Regions from separate parts of the Homo sapiens genome. Here region 1 is linked to region 2. Evidence: promoter capture Hi-C in 16 types of primary human blood cells and fetal thymus (Javierre and others, 2016). All regions are on one chromosome and are shown on one strand. The core of a region is centred on a gene start or on the middle of the fragment in contact, and the rest is flanking DNA. Distances in the headings are between cores, read along the strand shown.

The links. Contacts are between HindIII fragments. The CHiCAGO score rates a contact against its expected background, and 5 or more counts as called.
Region 1: a contact is called between a fragment that was not itself captured here and the fragment with the promoter of TMEM38B in region 2, in 1 of 17 cell types (naive CD8 T cells). The highest score is 6.6, in naive CD8 T cells.

The regions. Positions count from the first base shown.
Region 1 is chr9:104,981,865-104,984,564 of GRCh38, forward strand. The region is part of intron 3 of CT70 (cancer/testis associated transcript 70); the gene reads right to left. Among named protein-coding and RNA genes, the nearest start is that of CT70, 8.6 kb to the right of the region's middle. The HindIII fragment of the contact is 3,395 bases long and covers 1-2,700 here.
Region 2 is chr9:105,693,268-105,695,967 of GRCh38, forward strand. It overlaps TMEM38B (transmembrane protein 38B), which reads left to right and starts at 1,274. Exons shown (of 6, transcript NM_018112.3): 1 at 1,274-1,505. The coding sequence starts at 1,394. RefSeq lists a silencer at 1,108-1,377. The HindIII fragment of the contact is 6,405 bases long and covers 1-2,700 here.

The DNA of each region.
Region 1 (2,700 bases), core at 29-2,528, 710 kb before region 2:
CTCGTGTGAAAGAAGTCTGGAGAAGCCAGGTGTGCTCCACACTACTGCTCTGCTTGCCTCACCCGCCTCTTGGCCTTAGATGACTGTTGAGCTTCAGTCACCATGACCCCATTGCAACCAACAGGAAGGAAGAAAAGGAGAGAAAAATGGCCTATTCCCTCCCTTTAAGGAAACTTTCCAAAAGTATCACAAACTCTTTCTGCTTATATCTAGAGTGTAGTCACATGGCCATTCCTAGCTGGACGGAAGACGAGGACACTTTGTGTTTTATTCCGGATGGCCAAGTGCCTACCTAAAAATGGGGGTAGAGGAGGCTTTATCACCATTGAGAAAGAGACAGAATCAGGAGAAGGTTAGTGGCTTCTGTCACACAAGTCCAGACGGTTAAGAGCCTATGACAGTCTCTTTGAAAAGATCCAGTAAAAGGCTGTGAAGATTACAGGATCTGAGAGATGCTGGTCAGGTGATTTCTGGTGTAGCAGTTAAGCTAGATGCTCGCTTCTCAAGTGTAATTCATTGGCCAGCAGCATGGACATCACCTGGAAGCTGGCTAGAACTGCAAAATCAGGCTCAACCCCAGCCCTGCTAAATCAGAAGCTGGATTTTAACAAGATCCCAAGTATGGGGCTAGAAGATCTCAGAAAAGAGAAAAGTTAGAAACTGGGGAGATTGGTAGCACAGACTAGAGACGTGGGAGTCTTGTAGGTAAAGTGATGGTTGGGCTTCTGTGTGCCAGTTGGCTCCTTAAGGAAGTGAATGTGAGACAGGAAAATAGGGAGTTAGGGTAACCAAGGGTTAAGATATTTGTTATGTTACAAATGGCAAAAGAACAGCAGGTGCAGCCAGTTCTAGGCAAGATTAGGCAGCATACAGGCCACATCCTCACTCTTGCGATAACAAGATAGAAGTTTCCACTTTAGCCTCGGATTGACCACAGGCCAAGTCTCCACTTCAGCCTCTGATTGGCCACAGGCCAGGTCTTCATAGGGTGTAACCAGTTGGAGGCCTCTAAAGGGTACCTAGGGGTGTTACCAAATTCTTTTAGTTTAATAAAAACTCTAAAGAACATGGCAACCCTGCCGTGCTTGGTGGCTCATGCCTGTAATCCCAGCTCCTTGGGAGGCTGAGGTGGGCGGATCACTTGAGGCCAGGAGTTGGAGACCAGCCTGGCCAACATGGTGAAACCCCATCTCTACCAACAACAACAACAATAAAAAAACAGAAATTAGCCTGGTGTGGTGGTGCACACCTGTGATCCCAGCTACTCGAGAGGCTGAGGCAGGAGAATCACTTAAACTGGGAGGCGGATGTTGCAGTGAGCTGAGATCACACCACTGCACTCCATCCTGGATGACAGAGTGAGACTCCATCTCAAGTAGAAGAACATTGTAGTTGGGGCTCTAGAGCCGCTTGCTGGAGCCTGCTCCCACTCTGTGGAGTATGAACTTTCACTTCAATAAATCTGCACTTTCATTGTTTCTGTCTTCTCTCATTGCTTCATTCTTTTGTTGCTTTGTGCATTTTGTTCAATTCTTTGTTCAATGTGCCAAGAACCTAGACAACTCACAGTCAAGACTTTCCATCCTGTAACAAATGCAGAGGTGGCCAGAAAGCTGAGTGCTTCAACTCAGGGATGAGAGTGGAAGAAATTGCCAGAAAATAATTAGGAACAAGCGAAAGAAAAGCACTTGGAAAGAAAGCAGTCTTGAAAACAAACTTTAAAAGAGTATCAGTGAAATACAGATCCAATTACCCTGCCCTGTGGACCAGGCAGTCCTTAATCCTCACAACAACCTTGAGTGGTAGGATCTATGATTCCCATTTCACGTGATGAAACCGAGCTTCAGAGATGATGGCTTGCCAAGATCACACACTAAATACTGACATAGCTCACTATAACATCTTGTAGAGATCTGACTAGTTTACAAAGCATGATTAAATGCATTATCTAATTTAAGCCTCACAATTACTTTGTAAAGTAAACAGAAAGTGGCTGTTAATTTTGCAAGTAAAGAATTCCAGGACTTTTGATTCTCAGTCCAGTGTTGTTTTGTTTTTCTCTCATTTTTCTTCCCTTATTTCTTGACACATTGATGATAATGAAGAATAGATGTGAGTACAGGATTCCTCAAACCTGAATTTAACTGTGTTTGTGAGGGTCCAGCTCAGGGACAGACATTCAGTAAACCCTCCAATGATAACTGATATTGTTGTTTTTCTTATAATTACAACTATTGGCTTTGTTCAATAAAGCAATATTTATAAAAGTAATTTATTAGAATGAGAAGTACAGAAACCAAAAATGGAGGGGAAATTTGAATGAAGATACGATGTCAGAAATGAGGGAAGGAACTCTAAATAATACTTCGGAGCCTGAACTTTGGAGTTAGACAAGTTGAGTTCACATGCCAGCCCTGCTGCTTATCAGAATGGGGAGTTTGGGCAAAGTGGCTAACAGCCCATCGCCTCCACTTCCTCATCTTCAAGGCTGCCACTTCACGAGATATTATTATGAAGATTGAAAGAGATAAAGTACATAAGATGCTAGCCCAATGCTCAGAATAAATATTTAATAATTACAGCTATTATTAAATCCTGGTTATGGATGGAAGAGTGGACTTGGTAAAAGTCCAAGCCGCAGCAGGTTTGAGAATAAAATAACCTACATTGACTGCTTTGAGTGTTTATCAGTTTGTAGAC
Region 2 (2,700 bases), core at 24-2,523:
CGTTTTAAACACTTAGTGTTTAGGGCAGTATTTCTGACATCCAGCAAAATGCTGGTTACATAGTAGGCACGCAAAAAACATTTTGTTAAATGAATTAAAATTAATGAATACATATTCAGATAAAAAAAATTCTCCTTTTGCAGTGCATACACCCGTGAAGCTGTCACCTACCTAGCAGCTAATCACGTTTCTCCAATTTCCTGGTGCCAGCATAATCTGTTCACACATCAAATAAGTGTGCCAAGCTAGTTTTTTTTCTTACCCAAACCTATTCCTTCTTGTTTCCTATTTATCAGAATGCAACCACAATCCTCCTACTCACCCGTTCCTCATTTTATTTGACAAATGCTTCCTTTCCCGCCTGTACAGACTGACACTCACTGACGATATTCTGCTTCTACCCATGTTTCCCACAATTGGTCTCAATTTCTGCTGCCACAGCCTCCACTACCTTTTGCTTGGACCAGTGAATACCCTCTGATTTTCCGTTGTCAGTCGCTTCTCATCAATCTATTCTTAATCTTGTTGCTTCGTTGCACCTCTACTCCCTCACCTTCCACCAAACAACCCAGTTAGCGTAGAGATTAGGAGAAGAGATTCTGGCTCTGAGCTTAACATAGTGATTGATCAAGAATTTAACCTCTGGAGCCAAACTGCCTGGCTTTGTCTGCCATTCGAGGACTTTTCCCAACCTCATTTCTCACTTTGTAGTCAACCCAAAACACCTCCCTCCATCTCCCACCTAGCTTGTGTTTCTCACTTAACTTTTAAAGTCCAGCTCACATGTCACTTTACTCACTTCCCAGAATTGTAATCTTCGTTTCGAACTGCTCTCGCACGGCAGCTATACTTCTCAGTACCTGCTTTTGTACCATTATGTGCGTTTTTTCTCTTTTTATAAAAAATCTCTTTCAGGGAACGCATAGTTCTTGAGGTCAGGATATTATTGTTTTATTTTTATATCTCCAGTAAGTCACAGTGTGACTTGCACTGTGGTTGCTCGATAAATGTTAGGTGAATGACATCAATTTACAGAAATAAATCCAACTCTGAGCGTCTCCCCTTGAGGACCGTGTTTTGTTCATCTGCACGCTCTCCAGGTCCTGCACTGCGCCCAGGACCAAGAAGACGCTGGACCCTTACTAGGAGAACCGAGGCAAGAGCCGGCTGGAGCCGCGGGGAACCCGCTCGCCCCGCCCACCCGCCTAGCGCCGGTGAGCCTGCGGCTCCCGCGAAGCGCGGCCCCGCCCCCTCGGCGCCAGGGCGCACGCGCGGAGCTGGAGCCGGCGCGGAGGAGCGGGCGGCCGCGGCTGTGCCCTCTCCTACTCCTCACCGCGCGAGCGCGGGGAACCAGTAGCCGCGGCTGCTTCGGTTGCCGCGGTCGGTGGTCGTTATGGATTCTCCATGGGACGAGTTGGCTCTGGCCTTCTCCCGCACGTCCATGTTTCCCTTTTTTGACATCGCGCACTATCTAGTGTCAGTGATGGCGGTGAAACGTCAGCCGGGTGAGTGCGGGGCGCCGCGGGCCGGACCCCTCAGAGTGCTCCTGACGGCGAGGACCGTCTAAGTCGGGTGGGTCGGGTGGGTCGGGTGGGCGGCTGAGTGGCCGCTAGCCCAGACAGTTCGATGGTAGAGTTGGAGGGGCGCCAAGGGCCGGTTGGTCTGACTTACTGAGTGCAGATGGGGAAACAGCGTGGGGGAGGACGGAGGCTCTAGTACTCCTCAAAGGAGGCGTGACCTGGGGTCCGCGAGGCCGTAGCCTGGGCGAGCAGGGCCGACCTTGCCAACCGCCCGCAGAAGTCCCAGGACTGACAGAAGCTGCCGCAGCGTTTCGGAACCACAGATATCCGCGCCAGCCCAGGGCTTGGGCGGCCTCCTCGCGGTACCGCCACTCGCTCGCAGTGTCGCCACTCGCTCGCAGTGTCGCCACTCGCTCGCAGTGTTTGAAAGTCATGTGAGGAGACAGCAGGTTTCTGACTCAGTCTCTTGGAGTAATAGATGGTTGCGGACTACTCTCCAGTTATGAAAGTTGTACAAGCACTGAAACAAAAAGCCTCCTGTAGCCAGACCAGGATTCCCCTTCACGCAGTGTCCTAACACCCTGCCTAGCATGTGAGAAGCGAGTGCGTTCCCCTTTTCACAGTCACGACGGACACTGTACAAGCAAGAGTTACCTGGCGTAGTTTCACTATCTGCAGAATGGGGATATAGTCTTGAAACAGCATTTTGAGTTCTTTTAGCAATGCGATCAAGGGACAGTAGTTGTATTTTATTGGATTTTACACCAGGGTGCGTTTGCTCTAATACTGCTTTACTTTTGTAGTTATTCTACTGTGCTTTTAGTTGTATGGACCTCTTCTTTCTTTGAGGTCAGACATTTCTTTGCCTACTTTCTTTGTGTTCTTGCTGTCTTTCATCTGCCTTGCCCTACGGATAGTTGATGAGTGAGGTCTGGAGGATGATGCTGTATCTTTCTTATGGACTACTTACTGGTTTTAAAAAATCCTTAGACCTCAGAAATATTTTTCATTTATGTTGAAGTTTGTAGCTCAGTTTAAATCGTTGGTACAAATTTTGACCTGGATGAGGATGGTATTACTGCATTAAAGTAGAACACATTATCTGCATAAGATATTATTTCTTTGATTTGAAAAAAGTAAGTTTTGTTGCTACTACATGTTCAGAATTTGATTAAAAAAA